Regions from separate parts of the Homo sapiens genome. Here all the other regions are linked to region 3. The links are contacts of gene promoters, found by promoter capture Hi-C in blood cells and fetal thymus (Javierre and others, 2016). All regions are on one chromosome and are shown on one strand. Each heading gives the region's core, a stretch centred on a gene start or on the middle of the fragment in contact. The rest is flanking DNA. Distances are from core to core; before and after follow the strand shown. Region 1 has its middle 64 kb from the start of FAM85B. Region 2 overlaps PRAG1 (PEAK1 related, kinase-activating pseudokinase 1). Region 3 holds the start of MFHAS1 (multifunctional ROCO family signaling regulator 1). Region 4 has its middle 17 kb from the start of FAM85B. Region 5 overlaps PRAG1 (PEAK1 related, kinase-activating pseudokinase 1). Region 6 overlaps PRAG1 (PEAK1 related, kinase-activating pseudokinase 1). Region 7 has its middle 36 kb from the start of FAM85B.

Region 1 (2,700 bases), core at 20-2,519, 600 kb before region 3:
AGATTTATTATATGTATAAACATGTGTTCTCTGTGCAGGGGATATCAGATGTATGCTAACTCTTTTGTGTAAAGAGATCATGTCTAAATCCCTTGAGTGGCTGTTCAGCTAACGTTTAGAGTCTCTTAATCTTGTATTTGATGCTAAACCAAATAGGCCCTTAGGGAAGAATTAAGAATAAGCCAGACAGTATAAAATTCTTATTTTGTTAAAGTTGAATAGTATTTGTTGCATTAGGTACAACCAGTGTAATCACTATGAGGGTTAGTTGAGTATACTCTCTGTACACATACACTCTAAAATAAAATGACCTAGGTATACAGAAGGACTAAAGGGATTAAAGATTTCTATCTTATTATTTGACATTGAGAGCACTGCCCTTTTGTTGAAACAAAATGTCATTCAGATGAATAGATAAGGTCATACCTCCAACATCACAATGAATCTAAATCGCGGTAAAAATAAGTTGAGTAACAAATTTTTACTTAAAAGCCATCAAATTTTATTTTGTGTTTTTGAGTCTTGGATTTTGTGCACAGAAACATTCTAATATTGTTTAAGCAACAGGGAATAGAAAAGATTAATCAGTAATTAGCAAAGCTTTAAAAAAATGAAAGTGAACATGAGTCCTAAGACACGCTGTGATTTTTGCTTTTTGTTGCTGTTGTCGTTGTTATTGTTGTTTTCGCTTTGTCTTCCAGGCTGGAGTGCAGTAGCATGATCATAGCTCACTGCAGCCTTGGACTCCTGGGTTCAAGTGATCCTTCCACCTCAGCTTCCTGAGGAGTAGTGGGGGCTACAGGCATGTGCCACTGCATTTGGCTAATTAAAAAAAAATTTTTTTTCTGGTAGAGCCAGGATCTTGCTGTGTTGCCCAGGCTGGTCATAAACTAACACTGTGATTTTTTAAACATGAGCTCTCCTTTGGGCTGGCAACGTGATAAAAGAAAATATGTTTTTCTTCTGAGGAAAATAATTATTTATGAACACATTTTTTCTTCATTAAAACATAGATTTAGCCCTAAAGTCTAAGTCAAAATAAAAACAACTTAAATATTGCTCCATAAGGCTAGTAGTTGGTAATTTTTGTTTTTTTTTTTTTGAAATGGGATCTCACTCTGTCACCCAGACTGGAGTGCAATAGTCAAATCTCAGCTCACTGCAAACTCTGCCTCCCGGATTCCGGCGATTCATCTGTCTCAGCCTCCTGAGTAGCTGGGATTACAGATGTACACCAGCACACCTGGCTAACTTTTGTATTTTTAGTAGAGACAGGGGTTTCACCATGTTGACCAGGCTGGTCTCGTACTCCTGACCTCAAATGATCCACCCACCTCAGCCTCCAAGTGCTTGAATTACAGGCGTGGGCCACCATGCTTAGCTAGTTGGTAATCTTTTAAGGTGAGGTTGCATTTACAGTAGTCAGTTGCGTTTACTGCCCTCGCCCCACATTTTGTTTTCAGGGATTCAGTGGAATTTGTTCTTATATTTATTTGTGAATAAGATTACATATTTCACTTTTTTCCCTTTCTTCTCTTTGGCTGTTGCTGTGCTGCATGCTTTAGTAATTATTACCAAGCCCCACCCTCGCTTCCAGATACCCAGGTGGCTTGTATTTTGTACCATGGCTCTGGTAGGGATGTGCTGCCTCTCCTGGATGCTACACAGGGTGCATTGGCCATGCTCAGGCTGAGCATCGCCTGGCTGCTGGTGCTGCAGCCCCTGCCACCCTCTCTGGCCCTGCTTGACATCACTGCCTCCAATTAGCTGCTTTCACTGCAGACACCCTAGAGCCCATACAGCAGATGCTGAGGTACTGGAACCTCAGGGTTGGGGAGGAGATGCTGAACTGCATAATATTCCTTGGAAAAGTGGGAGAGAATTCTTGCCTCCCTTTGAGGGCTGTACTCCATTAAACTGGTCCAGAAGTTTGGGTATAAAGCTTATACCCAAAGGTTTTGAGAAACAGGCATTTTCACTTTTAATTATATGATTACCTCTACTCTTTTTTTTTTTTTTTTTTTTTTTTTTTGAGACAGAGTCTCCCTCTATCGCCCAGGCTGGAGTATGGTGGTACGATCTCGGCTCACTGCAACTTCCACCTCCCAGGTTCAAGCGATTCATTCTGCCACCTCAGCCTCCTGAGTAGCTGGGATTATAGGCTCCCACCACCACACCTGGCTAATTTTTGTATTTTTAGTAGAGATGGGGTTTCACCATGTTCCCCAGGCTGGTCTCGAACTCCTCACGTTAAGTGATCCACCTGCCTCAGCCTCCCAAAGTGCTGGGATTACAGGTGTGAACCACCGCACCCAGCCCCTACTCTATTTAAAATAAGATTCAGGCATGAGTCCACTAGGCTGGACCAGGGAAAGATCTGAAAGACAAACACAGCCATTCTTCTCCCGGATAACTGACTCTTCAGTCTTGGAAGACATGGGCCGGCCTGCTCCTCTTTCCCCTTGGGACAAGTTTTACTTATGTGTGTATTTTTCTTCCCCGGGAGTCACTTGGGTTTTCGTGGAAATAGACTGCTGTTTGCCAAAGCCACGTCTGGGTCCCAGAGTTGATGTATTCAGACAGCACTGTCAACATACTCTAGCTAATGCAACGCTGGCTGGTGAGAAGAGCAGGAAAGTTATATAGGAAGAGAATGAGAGGGAAGATTCCCAAACCCCTTACATACTTATTCATTGTAAA
Region 2 (2,700 bases), core at 127-2,626, 570 kb before region 3:
AAGGGGGCGCTGGACATGCCTCATGCTACCCTCCTCCCTGTTGGGATTACTGATAGGGCAGTCTCTTCAAGTCTGATAAAAATATTTACAATGTGTTCTCACTCAAGCCTGCTACCTGGAGGCTTCGTCTGCATGATAAAGTCTTGGTCTCCATAACCCCTTCTCATAATCCAGACATTCCTTTCTATTGATAATAACTCTCTCAACCAAGTGCCAATCAGAAAATCTTTGAATCCACCGACGACTTGGAAGCTCCCCCGGCCCCCTCAACTTCAATGTACATCATACATGTATTGATTGATAACTGTGTCTCCCTAAAATGTACAAAACCAAGTTGTGGCCTGACCACTTTGGGAACATGGTCTCAGGATCTCCTGAGGGCTGTGTCATGGGCCATAGGTGACTTATATTTGGCTCAGAATAAATCTAATATTTTACAGAGTTGGACTCTTTTCATTAACAAACAAAAAGCACACAAATGTGAAAAACAAGACACTAAATAGACTGCAAAAAATGACCCTGGCTTCCAGGATGAGGGCTGAAACAAGATGGGAGACTGTCGCCTCATTCCCCTTCAGCTGGAAACATGCACATTGGGTGATATGGTTTGGCTGTGTCCCCAAACGAATCTCATCTTGTAGTTCTCATAATCCCCACGTGTGGTGGGAGGAACCTGGTGATGTTCTCATGATAGTGAGTGAGTTCTCATGAGATCTGATGGCTTTATAAGGGGTTTTCTTTTCCCTCCCTTTTTTTTTTTTTTTGAGATAGAGTCTTGCTCTGTTGCCCAGGCTGGAGTGCAGTGGCGCATCTTGGCTCACTGCAATCTCCACCTCCTGGCTTCAAGTGATTCTCCTGCCTCAGCCTCCCAAGTGGCTGGGATTACAGGTGCCTACCACCACACCTGACTAATTTTTGTATTGTTCATTTTTTAGTAGAGATGAAGTTTCACCATGTTGGCCAGGCTGGTCTTGAACTCCTGACCTCGTGATCTACCTGCCTTGGCCTCCCAAAGTGCTGGAATTACAGGCATGAGCCACTGCACCTGGCTGCTTTTGCCCCTTTTGCTTGGCTTCTCCTTGCTGCCACCATGTGAAGAAGGACGTGTTTGCTTCCCCTTTCACCATGATTGTAAGTTTCCTGAGGCTTCCCCAGCCATGCTGAACTGTGAGTCAATTAAATCTCTTTCCCTTGTAAATTACCCAGTCTCAGGTATGTCTTTATTAGCATCGTGAGAACTAAACATCAGGTGACTCAAATTTTTCCTTCCCTTACACGTATCCAGAAATCACTGGAAAGCGCTTCGAGTATTGATTTTGGAATTACACATAAATTTGAGCGGGTAGATGATTTTGCAAATACAGAATCCATAAATAATGAAGATGGACGGTATTTATCTCAAAGCATGTTTTCTCCTCTGAATGACAGGGGCAGGGATAGTCCTTCCTCGTAGGGCCATTGTGAGGATCAGATGAAATGATGCAGGCATGGCTCTCAGCGCCAGGCCCAGCCCAGGGCAAGCACAATGGGGAAGGTTGCTATGGTGACTGCTCTTGCCATCTCGGCTGTAGCCCTCTGGTGATGCGGAGGCATCCAGAGCTGGCCTGCAGGTATTGTGCAAACCCGAAGAGCACAGCTGCCCAGGGGCCTGGGAAGAGTTTCCAAGGCTCCTTTTTCTCAGGGGTATGAAAAGCCTGGGCCCAGCAAACACTTGAGGCCTGGAGCTCCAGTCAGGCTGCTGACATTTTGCACAGAGATGTAAATGAAGGAGCAGAGTAAATGGCAACTGGGCTGGATGCATTTCAAAATCAGTGCACTGGGCCTTTGGCAAGACCCGCAGCTTCCTCAAAGGCCAGCAACGGAGAAGGCTGCGTTGGGCGCATGCTAACTAGCCCTGTGAGTGAGCTGTAGGCCCGCGCCGGAGATCATTCCACAGCACTGGGTGGGGGAAGGGGCGGTGGGGGAGGGAGTGGCTTTTTCTCCATCTCCATCTCCCTACTCCCTGCCCCCAACCAACCTCATTTCATTTTCAGGGGGCCCTGCACTCGGATTTTTAGCTCTAGAACTTTACATAGACTCTTGGTTCAGCTCAAGTTTCTAACGTTTTGCTGAGCCAGGACTCATTTAAACTTTGGAGTCAGGGCCTCATTCACGGGCGAAAGTCTGGGCTAAATCATGTCTGTTAAATAAAAAAGGCCCAGCAGCTTAAAACGGGGCCCTAATTACCAAACTAGAATTCTGTCTAGATGGCTGAGAAATGAAACTGCTTCGAAGACGCACACACAACTAATGATTTTTTTTTTCCTGTCACCTATTCATGCGGTGGAGCTACAAGAACCAGCTTTATCTCCTCACTGCTGCAGGGCGCTGAGCCCAAAGTAGTAGGTTCCAGCATCAGCAAGGAGCAGGTGTGAGCCTGCTATTGTTAACTAGGACTCCGCGACCGCAAACGAGGCTCCGTCTGCCTTCAGTGCCGGCTCCCTGTTTAACATGTGCAGATAAAATGCGCTCAGCCTCAGACAGGCAGCTCGCTGGCTGGGAAGGGAGACCCACTCCCCCTCCTGCGGATCCCCAGATGACTGTATTTCGTCTAGACTGGAGAGCTAATGAAGTGGAACAGCTGCCCGTGCGAAATGATGCTCCAGGGCCCCCACGGCCCGCCCCCCCAATGACCAGGCCAGGCACATTTGCAAATTAATA
Region 3 (2,700 bases), core at 171-2,670:
GTTGGAGGAGAGGTTGAGCATTTTGAGCCGCTGCAGGCAGCTGAACTGGGCGGGCAGAGCCTGCAGCCCGTTGTTGTCTAGCATGAGGCTCTCCAAACTGGCCAGCTCGCAGAAGCCGGCGGGCAGCGTGCCAAGCTCGGCCCCACTCAGCCAGAGGATCTTGAGGGCACGCAGGGCACTGATATCCTCAGGCAGGCCCCGCAGCCGGTTGCTGGACACGTCCAGCTCCTCCAGGGCCACCAGCTGCAGCAGCTGCCGGGGGAAGGCAGTGAGCTGGTTGTGATCCACGTCCAGGGTGCGCAGGCGGGAGAGGCAGGAGAGGGAGTCAGGCAGGTGCGCCAGCCGGTTAAAGCTGACATCCAGCTCCTCCAGGTGAGCGAGAGCGCCCAGCTGGGCGGGCAGGGCGGGCAGCTGGTTGTGGCTGAGGTTGAGCTTCCGCAGCTCCCTCAGAGCACTCACCACCTCCGCGCCCAGGGCGGTCAGCCGGTTGTGGCTCACGTCCAGCTCGGTGAGGTGGTGGCCGAGCTCGGCCACCGCCGGGGGCAGCCGGGCGAAGCGGTTCCTGCGCAGGACCAGGACGCGCAGGCTGCCCAGCGCCGACCCCAGCCCCTCGGGTACCTCCTCCAGGCCGTTGTTCCCCAGGTTCAGTGCCTCAATGTCCCCGAGGTTGGCCGGCAGCACGAGCTGGGGGGAGGCGGGGGACTCGAGCGCGTCGGCCCCGGCCCCGGGGCAGGCCCCGGCGGCGGTAAGCGTGAGCTGGCGCAGGTTGCTCCGCAGCTTCCTGGCACGCAGGGCGGCGTCCCGCCACAGCCTCGCGGTCTTCAGGTTGCCACTGTCCATCCCAGCCATGGCGGGGCCCCGGGCCGACAGCCTCACGCGGACGCGGGAGCCCGCAGCTACATGCCGCGCCGCGCCCCGGGCCCTCCGGCTCCTGCCCCTGCCTGCCCTCCCGCGCTCGGCGGCCGGCGGCCGCGGGTCCTAGCGCAGCCAGCGGCCGAGCGCTGGCGGCTAGGGGGCGGCGGCGACGCGAGCGGCTCCGGGGGACGCCGAGCGCGTGGAGAGCAGCTTGCATTCTCCCTGCGGCCGGGCCATGGGCGCGCCGGGCAGCAGGGCCGCCGCCCGCGCGCCGCGGAGGATGCCTGCTCCTCCTCCCTCTCCGCCCGCCGCGCGGCGCCTCGGGGGGCCCGGCTCCGGCCCCGCTACCCTCGCAGCCGCGGTCCCGCGGCCGGCAGCGGCGTCGCCTCCTCGAGCTCCTGGGGGAGGGCGGCGCTCGGCCCGGCGGCGGGCATGCTGCGGGCGCAGGGCTGGGGCGCAGCCGCGGGGAGGGGGCGGCGGCGCCTCCTTGTCTCCGTTTCCCCGGGCTCGGGCGGGAGCGCGGGCGCCGCGTCCCCGGCGCTGGGAGGGCGCGATTGGGAAGCGGCAGCGCCGCCCGCCGGAGCGGCCCCCACGTGACCGGCGGAGGCGCCGCGTTTTCCCGGCACCGCCCCGGGGGCGGGAGCTGCGGAGGGCGCCGGGTGCGGGGCCGGGGGCGCCTGGCGCGGGGCCGGGTCCGCGCCCCGGACCATGCTGGGCGGGGAGGTCGTCCCAGCGGCGGATGTGGGGCTCCGGGGCCCCCCTGGTGGGTTCGCCCGCGCCTGGCTCTTTGTTGGCCCCCAGTCTCTAAGGATTTCTTTTTCTTGTTCTCTAATGCGTCGGATCCGCCGGCTTCCCTTACTCATCCTTTACCTGCTCCCCTGCCGCTCGCCTTGCATCCACGCCGTAGTGGAACTGGCACAACTCGGGGGCCCTGGGTATCATCATAGAAGCTTAGGACAAGAGTGTGGTTAAACAAAATTAGAACAGGCAACCATTCATTCATTTGGTAAATATTTCCTGAGGCCCTATTTCGTGTTGAACATGGGACAGGAGTAATGCAGGCTGGTCAGAGGAGAATAAAAAATACCAGGCAGCAGTTTCACTTGACTGGAGGCTATGGGCTGATAAGACCCTGAAAACCAGGGTGTGTACCAAGCTGGCTAAGACCGGCTGGACCCGACGTGGTCCTGGATTTGACCTAGGTTTCTCCTAGGCCTCCATTATACGCTCTTTAACATCCTAAGTCACACCAGTGCCATGACAATTCCGGGGACACCCATATTTGAAGTAAAAATGGGTGGCACCACAGTCCCGAAAAATCTCCACACTTTTCCAGGAATTTTCATGAATATTTCACCCCTTGGTTAAAGAAACCCATAAAGGTAGCAGCCCCAAGCCCCGTTGTGAGTGACCCTCTCCACAATCCCTTTTCCTGGGTGTGTACTTTTCCCTTTGCAATAAATCTGCATATTGTCACTATTTTCTGAGTTGTCCTTGAACTCATTCTCTGGATGTGTCAAGAGCCTGGACATTGGCTGGGGTCAAGGTCGCACTGGCTTTAGAGGATCTCCCCCAGCCCACCCGTACCAGAACTACTAAAAGACGGTTTTAACCCCCCTGGGGAAGGCTTTTGAGCAGGTGGCCCGCCAGCCTAAAGGAGGGTTGTTAAGATGGGGGGGACACAAGCTGTTTATCTGGGGTATCCCGTTTATCTTCACAACAACGCTGTGAAACAAATACTGTATCCCCATTAATACAGTACCTGTTGTTCTGCGGACTCAAGAAAACAGCTATTTTGGGAAACAGTCACAGTCCATTGTTCAACTCTAATGCTTATTTTTATTG
Region 4 (2,700 bases), core at 134-2,633, 650 kb before region 3:
GCTCAAACAAACTCAGATAGCTCAAATCATAAATCAGCGGGGCTTCAGAATCTGAGAGAGAATTGAGCAGTAATCCCCAGTTGTGAGACAGCAATGGACACAGTGGGCAGGCGAGTACTGAACTCCCTCTGCAAAAATTCTAACAGTGAGAAAATTTAACCATCCCACATCTTGCCTGTACCCTTCAAACTGCCCTTCATTCTTCCTGGGCATGGGCCAAGCTAACTTTGGGAGACATTTAGTTTATAGTTTAAATGATAATAGCTCTTCTCCAAAGCTCAACCACATTTGTAAAGCTGATGAGAGACCGCCAGGGTAAGAGGATGGGAGGAGCCTGATTTCTGCTAAGGTGTAGACATAAATGATTACCTGCCATTATTCTGGAGGTCACAAGACATGGAACTTCCCCAATTACTCCTGCAAATCACATCACTATTGTAGAACCCACGATCAGCCTTTTCGGATGTCTTTTCAGGTTTTTGCTTGTCTGATGACTGATGGCTCCACCCAGACCTGCCAACCACTCCCGCGGCCCCATCCAGAAGTGGCTCAGCGTGCATGAGGACCATCTCCAACATCCCTGTGATTGTACCCCCAACCAACCAGCAGCAAGAACCTATTGCCTAGTCACCTCCCCTCTCTTTCCCCAACTATCATTGAAAAAGTCTGGCTTCCAAATTTTCCGGGAGACTGATTTGGGTAATAATAAAACTCCAGTCTTCTGTTCAGCCAGCTCTGCATGAATTAAGCTCTTTCTCTATTGCAATTTTCCTGTCTTGATAAATTGTCTCTACCTGGGCAGGGGGCAAAATGAACCCATAGGGTGGTTACAGTACCTTGCTGGGTCACTTGATATTCCTGGAGGGTCACGGGAAGCGCTATGTGAATCCCACTTCTGATATTGTAAGATTCTCTCCAGGGCCTGAAAGCTTAAGGGGTTGAGCAACTCCTCCCTTCTCAGGCCCAGCCCCAGGGCGCAAGGCCGCTTGCATCAGCAGCGTGCGTGAGCAGATGCGCCAGCAAGATAGCAAAAGCAGGAAGAGAGCCAGCCGGAAGACAAGTACCTCTGAAGATGGAGAAAGAGGCCATCTGGGTACAACGTTGCAGTTACGTCAGACCAGGACACTTCCTGTTTACAGGAGACTATAAAACCTTTGCCCCATCCTCACTTGGGGCTGACGCCGTTTTAGGCCTCAGCCCGCCAGCACCCAGGCTCTCATTAAAACAGCATGTTGCTCCACACTGTCGTGTTGTCTGTTGGCGCGCTCTCGAGGTTCAAACCGATACAAGAAACTTACAATACCATCTGATAAAAGAAAAACTTTAGACAAATTAAATTTGACAGAGTTTAATTGAGCAAAAAACAACCGGAGAATCAGGTATCCCTAGAACCAGAGTAGGTTCAGAGCAACGCCTAGTTTTTAAAAAAATGTTTAACATTTATGAAAATTCTTCAACTTTAGCCTTCAAAATTTATAATGAATTGTTACTTCAGTTACCATCTTTATAAACTTTGAAGAGGTCTTTACTTTTTAAAATTTACTTATTTATCTTTACATAACATGCTCTTCTGATTTAAGTGTAGCTTTTTACCGTCTCCTGCGTCTTTTGTTTCCACTAAGTTGGTTTTGGTTTCCATTTTTCATGGTGATGACTTTCCTGAAATGTGTGATGACCTCTTGATACGGAAGGCAGAAAGAAATTATTTGGGCGGATAGTGATGGTAAAAGAGTCCTCGACAATGCTTCCCTTCTGACAAAAAGCAGCCCAAGAAATTGTTCTTTTCTAACAAAGAGCAGCCTGAAAAAATCGAGCTGCAAATATAGGTGAGCAAGCTGGAAGCTTCCACGGGTGAATGACGGCAGCTGTCCACGAGGAAAAGGCTACCTGGGGCCAGGCATGTTCAACATGGAGGCTCCATCCTCCCTTTTCTTTGTCACCATGTGTACAGTAAAGAAACAGGCAACATGGCACTCGCCAGGTAGAGAACCATCTGCATAATAAAAGATTAGGGTGGGCAGCCACCTTTTCACACCCAGTAAAATGGCACACCTGGTCCAACCAATCTTTCATGCCATATGTAAAACAGACACCACCTCCTCAAGCTCATCTATAAAACGCTCTGCATTTCACCATGGAAGTGGAAACCCATTCAGGACCCCTCTCTCTGCAGCAGAGAGAGATCTTCTCTTTCTGTCGCCTATTAAACTTCCGCCTTAAGCTCACTCTTGGTGTATCTGTGTCCTAGTTTTCCATGGCCGTGAGACAACAAATCTCGGGTATTTACCCCAGAATATGATGCCGCTTCACTTTGACCATCTATTCATATTTTAGAGAAAAACCTAAACAAACAAGGCTGGGTTTGTTGAAGGCTGGCTTCACAGAAGGCTCACCAGTTAGCCAGCCTTCTTCCTGAGGGACTTGTGATGGTTGTACTCTTCGGCTTCTCCAGAAAGGAGCATGGGAGCAGTCCATGAGAGGCTGAAGACCTGCCATTCAGTGTGTGGATCTTCCCTCATTTCCCATCCTCTCTTCTCCTGGTCTATACTGGGACTGCTATCCCTGAGCTCAGAGCCTTGGGACTGAAACTGTCCTGAGTGTGAACCTCCTGACTCCCATGTGAGTAGCTGGGTGAACGGAATTTGAATCCACTCAGTTTGCAGCCCATTGCCTCATCTGTCTGCTCACAGAATATAGTGG
Region 5 (2,700 bases), core at 152-2,651, 530 kb before region 3:
CACTGTCAGTGGGAATACAAAATGGTGCAGCTGCTATGGAAAACAGTAAGGCAGTTCCTCAAAAAATTAGAAATAGAATCACCAAATGAGCCAACAATTCCACTTTGTGGTATATATTTCAAAGAACTGAAAACAGGGTCTCTAACAGATATTTGCTTACCTGTGTTCATAGCAGTATTATTCACAGTAGCCAAAATGTAGAAGCAACTTAAGTATCCATTAACAGACGAATGAATAAACACAATATGGTTCTGTGAATGTATGGGAAAAACAAATTCAGTTCCTCCTATACTGTCACAATACAAAATACTTCTGTGACCTCAGATCTTGTTAGTTGTCCACCCCAACACCATGCAAGCAATCAATTCTGCAGCAAACACCAGCTGGTTGCTACCAAATTCAATTCAATTCTGACACTATCTACCTAGAGGTAGAGTCAGATCCCACAGGTTGAGGGTTCAGTTTCAGAAGACTTCCCCCTACTTCCAATGCCAATCCAAAGCCCAGGTTGTTTTATCTGTGCTTCTGATCAATCAATTATAAATTGGGGCTCCCATAATCTCCTCCTTGGGTTCAATTAATTTGTTAGAGCTGCACATAGAACTCAGGGAAATGCTTACAAGTTTATTATAAAGTATATCACAAAGGATACAGAAGAAGAGAAGCATGGGCAAGGCGTGTGGGAAGGGGCATGATGCTTCCATGCCCTCTCTGACAAACCACCCTCAAGGAAACCCCAGAGGTTCTGCTATTCAGAAACTCTCTGAACTCTGTCCTCTTAGGTTTTTATGGAGGCCTCATTACATAGTCATGATTAATTAAAGCATCAGCCATTAGTGATCAACTTAACCTTCAGCCTCTCTCCCCAACCCTGTGGGTTGGAGTGGGACTGAAAGTCTCAACCCTCTAATCTTGTCTTGGTTTTTCAGGTGACCAACTCCCCTACTGAAGTGACCAAGGGGCTGCCAGCCCTCAGTCAATTCATAAGCATACAAAAAGACACATCATTTCTGTTGGAAAGGAATGCTTATTCCTTGGTGCTACAAAGAAGAATCAGCATTCAGACAAAAAGTTTTCTCAGCAAGACAATTTTACTTTCTGCAGAAAGGGTGCTGCCCATCAGCAATCCTGCCACGAGAGCACACTGAACAAAGAGACACAGGAATATTTATCCCTTATGGGTGAAGTCCCTATTGCTTTGTCCTACCTCCACTGGCTGGAGCTGGACCTCACAGTCTAAGCTTAGCCCAATTGGCTAACAATCTAAAACTTTCCTAAATAGGTAAAGACAGTGCTAAACAAAGGAAAAGAGGAAGTTGCTTACATAAAGGCTTATAGAAGCAATAACATTTCCAAATAAGGAAGGGATATAAGCTGTGACCTGGGACATGCCTGAGCAAGCCAAAACTCATATTGTAGTTAAAGTATATGTATATATAAAATGCTTATCCTTTTACACTTAATGACTATGTAAGGTTTAATGAAGAGTTATTGTTAAAAGCTAGTCTTTAAGATAAACTATTAGTTCTAACACTTATGATTTATTCCTTAATAAAAAAGGTAAGCTTGAAGAGGAACTTTTTACTTTTCACAATTCCCTCCTCTTATTTTTTTATAGTTTTTCCTCTTCAAACTGTTTTAATATTTCTTGGCTTAATTGCTCTGATTGAATTTCTAAAAGGAGAATTTTTTCTGAATAAGGTGGAGGAGAGTTAAGATGGGTTTTAGTAAGAGTTGTTTTTGTTAATCTTATTACTAATTCCCAGATGCATGGTATAATACAACACCCAAGAAGAAGGAGTATGCCTATTACAGTTGCTATAGAAGTAAGAATTGAGGCTACAGTTTCTTTCTATTGACCGGACCATCCTTCTAGCCAATTAGAAATAGCATTAGGTACAACAGGATGAGTCGTCTAGACTATCTGATTGATAGCTCTAAGGTCTTGCACTAATCAGTATGACCCGTCTGATTACTTGACTGGTAAAATTGGAGTATTGGATGAGGACATACAAGGTTTGAGCAGCCCATCTTTAATAAGTCCTTCAATTACAGGCTTTAACCCTATTCTTCCTTATAAAGGAATACGGTATTGCTTTCTCCTTACTACCTCCCCTGGAGTTTTTAACCAAATATGTATTGGAGGAATTCGTAGCTTTCCTCAGTTTCCTTGACCAGACATCTGGATGTATGTATTTTTCATCTATCGCAGTTAACAAATTTAAAGAGGTTAGAAAACCTTTTGGACCAACTTGCAAACCTATACCTAATTTATCATTAAATCCCTTACTAACAAATTGGTTCCTGCTTCAGGAATTAATAAAAATTGTATACAAGTCGATTGATCTTGATATTTAACTTCCATATTTTCTAAAATTTTTGCCTTAAATCCTTCTCCTTTGACCCTGGAAACTGTCAATTCCTCTGAGGAACGAGCTAAATCAGCTGGAGGAAAACCAACAGATGAGTGAGCAGCTCCTGAGTCAATCAAAAAGGTGATTAATTCATGTTTGGGTCCCACCTCTAAATTTATCAAGGGCTCTTGGTGGGACTCGAAATAGAAAAGACAGAGCCCCTGACCCCTCTATTCTTCTTCAGAAGTAGTCACAAATGGGAGAGCTTCCTCTGCTTTTTCCAATTCAGGACATTCGTTCTTAAAATGACCTGGCCTCCCACATCTGTAACATCTGTCTTGCCCTC
Region 6 (2,700 bases), core at 54-2,553, 550 kb before region 3:
AGAATTTATTGGCTGTTCTTTGTGTTCAACATTGCCAGGCCCTGTTTTAATTTTCATAGTCACGGGAATCCCCTGTGTATCAACAGGAGGGTTTAAAGTTTGTTCGCTACCACAAAAAGTGCTCCTTGAAAACACGTCCCTCTCCCCACTCCCAACCCTTAGAATCGTACTTTTAAACTGTGTTAAATCTGTCAAAAAAAAAAATGTGACAGTGAAGGCAACATTATGACTAATCTTCATCTTTGTATCTCAGTATCGCTGTGGGAACCTTGGAAATATCAATTCCTTAGGAAATGCTATGGCAGTAGCTGATCCTTGCCTAATCTCCTGGCAAAATAAAATCAGACAGTTTCATACAATATTCTTATATCCACATCAGATCTATCACTAATAGTTTTCTCCAAGGGAAGCCAGGATATGAAGTCATGCATAACAACTCCTCAGTCTAGGAGAGAAGCCAGAGCCAGCTCTGTGGCTATCCCCTACTTTGCCCCTTCCAAAGTGGTTTCTAGAGTTTCTTGGTCTTCAGGCCCAGAAAATCACTAAGGGAGAAACTACAGCACCATGGCTACAGAGCTGGCACAGCTTCCCACTCCACAAACTTCATGAAATGTATGTAAATAGACAAAACCAAAAAATACATAAACATGTGTATGTATGAGCATATATATATATTCATATACATATGCACACACACACACATACTTACTTAAAGTAACAGCCAAGATTAAAAGAAAGAACAATTCTCAGGTGCCAGATACAAAGAGGGAACTCCACACACAGGCAGTACAAGGGATCCTTCAATACTAAGCGTATATTTACTACAGATTTCAGTAGACGCACTTTATCAGGCTAAGGATGTTTATTTCTATTTCAAGTTTTCTAAGGTTTTGTATTTCAAAATCATTTTTGGCTATTAGGGTTTATTAAATGCCTTTTCTACATCTATGGGAAAAAAATCATATCATGTTTCTCCTTTACTCTGTGAATGTGATGAGTTATGTTAATAGCTTTTCTTAATTAAGCCATCCTTGCACATGTTGTATGAACTTATTTTACTACACATTGCTGGATTCAGTTTTACTCATATTTAGTTTAAGATTTTTACATTTACATTCAAATAGAGGCTAGCCCATAATTTTTCTTTCTTGTCCTGTCCTTGTCCAATTTGGATATAAAGGTTAAAATAGAATTATAAAATGACGGCCGGATACGGTGGCTCCCTCCTGTAATCCCAGCACTTTGGGAGGTCAAGGCGGGCAGATCACTTGAGGTAGGGAGTTCGAGACCGGCCTGGCCAACAGGCCAACCCCATCTCTACTAATCATACAAAAATTAGCCAGGCATAGTGGCCTGCGCCTGTAATCCCAGCTACTTGGGAGACTGAGGCAGTAGAATCGCTTGAACCAAGGAGGCGGAGGTTGCAGTGAGCCGAGATGGTGCCATTGCACTCCAGCCTGGGTGACAGAGTGAAACTGTGTCTCAAAAAAAAGAAAAGGAATTATAAAATGAATTGAGTAACTTTCACTTTTTCAATTATCTCATGTAATTTTTTTTTTTTTTTTGAGATGGAGTCTTGCTCTGTTGCCCAGGCTGGAGTGCAGTGGCACCATCTTGGCTCATGCAAGCTACGCCTCCCGGGTTCACGCCATTCTCCTGCCTCAGCCTCCCGAGTAGCTGGGACTACAGGAGGCGCCCACCACCACGCCCCGCTAATTTTTTTGTATTTTTAGTAGAGACGGGGTTTCACCGTGTTAGCCAGGATGGTCTCGACCCCCTGACCTCGTGATCTGCCCGCCTCGGCCTCCCAAAGTACTGGGATTACAGGAGTGAGCCACCGCGCCCGGCCTTATCTCAGGTAATTTTTATAAGAGAAACATTATGTGTTCTCTGAAAGATTGCGAAAACTACCCTGTAAAACCATCAAGGACCAGTTGCTGTATAAATGAGATCAGTAAAGATCTGGTTCTGATAAATCTAGGACCAACATTTCCAGGACACAGACCCAAGAAACAGACTGGAGGATTAACAAGTCAATTCATGGTACTTACACCAGCTATTTATGATGTGAAGAAAAAAAGAAAGTAGAGCCATATCTCATACCGTGTAGAAACACGAATTTTCAACAGAAAAGAAACACCCATTAAATTTTAAATTCATCAGAAAAAATAACGAGAAAACTTTATGAACTTGGGGTAGGAAATAATTTTTAAAATAAGGGCTAAAAAATAGCAATATAAAGAAAAAGATAAATCTGACTACTTTAAAATTTAAAACTTCTGCCTCATAACATAAAAGTCACCATTAAAAAGTGAAAAAAAACAAACCTTGGAGTGGCCAACTCACATCTTTGCAACCCGCATTACTAATAAAGTACTGGTAGGCAGAATAAAAAAGAGTGCCTATAAATCTAAGAAACAGACAAATGACCCCATTTTTAAAATGGAAATGAACAGGCAACTCACAAATGAAACAAGAAAGGCCACTCAACACATGAAAAGATTATTAAAATTATGAATGATCAGATTGTAAATAAAACAAGATTTCATTTCATACCCATCAGATCAGACTGACAACGTCAGATTTTGTTAAAGATATAGGGAAATAGGAACTCTCTCACACTGTTTGTGAGACTGTAGATTGGTAAACTCACACACAGGACAACAATGTGATGAATCTTGTAAAGTTAAATACACACAT
Region 7 (2,722 bases), core at 134-2,633, 630 kb before region 3:
AAATTTTTCTTTTTGCCTTTGTTTCTTCATGTGTGGATTATTGCCATCCTGCCACTCACTGTGGTTTCCATGGAATCTTGTGGAGGAATCTGTTTATATATTTTTTTGGCTCACACATCTGTTATTACAAAAGCTCCTCTACTTTTATGATCTAATTAGGCTCTGCAAAGGAAACAACCAAAAAACTTAGTGGCTTAAAAGTAAAGCAATATATTATATCTCTTGATTTCATAAGTTAACCAGTTAAGTTTTCCTGATGGTCTTGCCTGGGATCATTGTAGCAACTGCATTTAGTTGGCTGATGAGCTGGGGGCATAGCTGGGGTTCCTTGGTTCTCCTCTATTTGATCTTTCCTTTGGTAGCCTGAGCTTCTTTGTAGCATATTGACCTCAGAGTAGTTGGACTATGTACATGGCAGCTGGCTTCCAAGAGGGAGAAAGAAGAAACTGTCAATCTTAAGTCCTGGGCTCGGAGGTTCAAGAGTGTCGTTTCTGTTATATTCTTTTAGGGGGAGAAATCAAAGCAAGTAAAGCAAGTTAAAAGATCTGGCCAGGTTCAAGGGGAAAGGAAATAGACTTCATTTCTTAATGGAAGAAACGGCGCATGCAACCAGTGGTAGAAGGAATTGCTGGTGAACATGTTTGCCTACCACCAACCATACCTAAAAATTTGTAAATAAGCCAATTTCCCCCATGTAGGTTCTTATGGCTACAAGAGGCTTGTGATTGTGGTTCCTCACTGCATTATCATCCAGTAGGACAGTGAATTGTTCTTCTAAGAGCTTTACAATCAGAGTCTTTTCCTCCTTGATATTGTAAGTTCCACTTGGCATCTGTTTCCAAACCAGATCGATTTTCACTATAACAAAAATATTTTGGGTAGGTATCCCCACTTCAGGATGAGTGCCACTTGTGTTGTGAGGAGTTTTCTAGCAAGCAATTTGTAGATGCAGGTTGGCCACCCAACTGAGGTGGCAAATGGAAGCCGGATTGCAGCCTTGTTCTAATCACTAAGCCTTGTTCCCCTGTATGGGACGGAGTCTACCAACAGAGAACCGCTGCCCCATCTGTGTTGGACATGTCACCACTGACTTTTGCTTGTGATGGATGTGTCACCACTCACTTTTGCTTGTGATGGACATGTCACCAGTGACTTTTGCATTATGCAGATCTGAAAAGACCTAGGCACCTACAAGTGTGGCTGGCCACCCTAGTGCCTGGCTACTTTTACCATGCTGAAGCTTTGGATAATCTTCCAGGCTTCTTCTTCATTAAATTTTGCCACGCTCACTGTGGTTTTTTGTTCTGTTTTTTTTTTCCATTTTGGTAGTTATTCTTTCTCATCTTTTGCTAAAGATGATTAGAGCAGCAGTTTCTACAAATTGCTTTGTCATACTGAATTATTCCTATGAGCCAAAGAGAAACGTCTTACGCACATATCATTTTCTTAAAATTTTTTCTAATACCATATTTCTACTTTTGTTTCATTTGTGATTGTCCGCTTCTTCAATCTAGTATTTTTTTTTACAAGCTTTATTGTTTTTGCATTTATTTGAGACACTGGAGTAAATGTTCATAAAGTATCTCAAAACTAAGTGTAAACATAGCAAATACACACTAGAATAATGGCTAATGCCTCGGGCAAAAGTATATTTGAACTAAAAGGATGGTGCATAATTGTTACTGCATGTCTTGTTGCCAGACGGAGTTGATATGCTTTTGCTCTGGAAAATAGCTTTGCACCTGTGATGGCTTGTAAGTTACAAGTTTTTAAGTATGAGAATTTCCATCTATAACTAGAAAGCTTTGGAGAATAGTCAGGTTTTAGGTGACACCATAGGGTATGAGTCACTGTTATATAAGCAGTAATTGTTTGCATTTAGAGTGCTTAAGCAGGCATGCTTACAGCCAATTTTTAAAGTTATTGTGTTTTTGCAAAAATAACAGTTTAGCAGTCTTGAGAACCTTAGTGAACATAGTTAAGCCACCCCAGCCAGATGACAGTGTATCCTTTCTCTAAGAAAGAAGATTCTATACCATTTATAGCAAATAATTTTTGGAATAACTTTCATTGTAAAGCTATTTTTCCTCATTATTGCCCATCTCTTTTGATGCTACAACAAAAGCTCATCCTCTCTCCTAATTTCTTTCTTCTTTTTTTTTTTTGAGACAGAGTCTCACTCTGTCGCCCAGGCTGGAGTGCAGTGGGGAGATCTCAGCTCACTGCAAGCTCCACCTCCAGGGTTCACACCATTCTCCTGCCTCAGCCTCCCGAGTAGCTGGGACTACAGGCGCCCGCCACCACGACCAGCTAATTTTTTTGTATTTTTAGTAGAGACGGGGTTTCATCGTGTTAGCCAGCATGGTCTCGATCTCCTGACCTCGTGATCCACCTGCCTCAGCCTCCCAAAGTGCTGGGATTACAGTCGTGAGCCACTGCGCCCGGCCCCTCTCTCCTAATTTCAAGTGTAACTAGATCTGTCATTGCTCTAAAGGAGCCACTCCTGGGCAGGACACATTTCTGGTTTAATAATTACTCTCATGAGATCACCACTCACGGGAACGTCTGTCCTTTCTTCCTTAGTGCCCCCGTTGGTCCCAGAACATAATTCTGTGACACGGAGCACAATTCTGTTCTAATTCTTTTGCATTAGTGAATGTATTTGTTATGCATTTGCCTGCTATTATTAGATTGTAAGTTCTGTTGAGATGGGGCTGTGCCT

What was found. The method cuts DNA at HindIII sites, captures the fragments that hold promoters and counts their contacts. A CHiCAGO score of 5 or more calls a contact.
Region 1: a contact is called between a fragment that was not itself captured here and the fragment with the promoter of MFHAS1 in region 3, in 3 of 17 cell types (total B cells, naive CD4 T cells and non-activated CD4 T cells). The highest score is 6.5, in total B cells.
Region 2: a contact is called between a fragment that was not itself captured here and the fragment with the promoter of MFHAS1 in region 3, in 3 of 17 cell types (activated CD4 T cells, total CD4 T cells and non-activated CD4 T cells). The highest score is 8.5, in activated CD4 T cells.
Region 4: a contact is called between a fragment that was not itself captured here and the fragment with the promoter of MFHAS1 in region 3, in 5 of 17 cell types (non-activated CD4 T cells, naive B cells, M1 macrophages and 2 more). The highest score is 6.4, in non-activated CD4 T cells.
Region 5: a fragment that was not itself captured here is called in contact with the fragment with the promoter of MFHAS1 in region 3 in 3 of 17 cell types (non-activated CD4 T cells, M1 macrophages and activated CD4 T cells); the score reaches 8.2 in non-activated CD4 T cells.
Region 6: a contact is called between a fragment that was not itself captured here and the fragment with the promoter of MFHAS1 in region 3, in 6 of 17 cell types (activated CD4 T cells, naive CD4 T cells, total CD4 T cells and 3 more). The highest score is 10.1, in activated CD4 T cells.
Region 7: a fragment that was not itself captured here is called in contact with the fragment with the promoter of MFHAS1 in region 3 in 1 of 17 cell types (M0 macrophages); the score reaches 5.2 in M0 macrophages.

The regions. Positions count from the first base shown.
Region 1 is chr8:8,290,111-8,292,810 of GRCh38, forward strand. No RefSeq gene overlaps it. Among named protein-coding and RNA genes, the nearest start is that of FAM85B, 64 kb to the left of the region's middle. The HindIII fragment of the contact is 1,342 bases long and covers 599-1,940 here.
Region 2 is chr8:8,322,573-8,325,272 of GRCh38, forward strand. The region is part of intron 5 of PRAG1 (PEAK1 related, kinase-activating pseudokinase 1); the gene reads right to left. Among named protein-coding and RNA genes, the nearest start is that of PRAG1, 63 kb to the right of the region's middle. The HindIII fragment of the contact is 6,195 bases long and covers 1-2,700 here.
Region 3 is chr8:8,892,210-8,894,909 of GRCh38, forward strand. It overlaps MFHAS1 (multifunctional ROCO family signaling regulator 1), which reads right to left and starts at 1,421. Exons shown (of 3, transcript NM_004225.3): 1 at 1-1,421. The coding sequence starts at 849. RefSeq lists an enhancer at 1-802 and silencers at 647-916, 1,027-1,306, 1,317-1,566. The HindIII fragment of the contact is 4,068 bases long and covers 1-1,803 here.
Region 4 is chr8:8,243,624-8,246,323 of GRCh38, forward strand. It overlaps the pseudogene FAM86B3P and the pseudogene ALG1L13P. Among named protein-coding and RNA genes, the nearest start is that of FAM85B, 17 kb to the left of the region's middle. RefSeq lists an enhancer at 278-1,477. The HindIII fragment of the contact is 913 bases long and covers 928-1,840 here.
Region 5 is chr8:8,357,579-8,360,278 of GRCh38, forward strand. All of the region lies in intron 3 of PRAG1 (PEAK1 related, kinase-activating pseudokinase 1), which reads right to left. Among named protein-coding and RNA genes, the nearest start is that of PRAG1, 28 kb to the right of the region's middle. The HindIII fragment of the contact is 324 bases long and covers 1,240-1,563 here.
Region 6 is chr8:8,340,647-8,343,346 of GRCh38, forward strand. All of the region lies in intron 3 of PRAG1 (PEAK1 related, kinase-activating pseudokinase 1), which reads right to left. Among named protein-coding and RNA genes, the nearest start is that of PRAG1, 44 kb to the right of the region's middle. The HindIII fragment of the contact is 3,665 bases long and covers 1-2,700 here.
Region 7 is chr8:8,262,068-8,264,789 of GRCh38, forward strand. No RefSeq gene overlaps it. Among named protein-coding and RNA genes, the nearest start is that of FAM85B, 36 kb to the left of the region's middle. The HindIII fragment of the contact is 290 bases long and covers 1,239-1,528 here.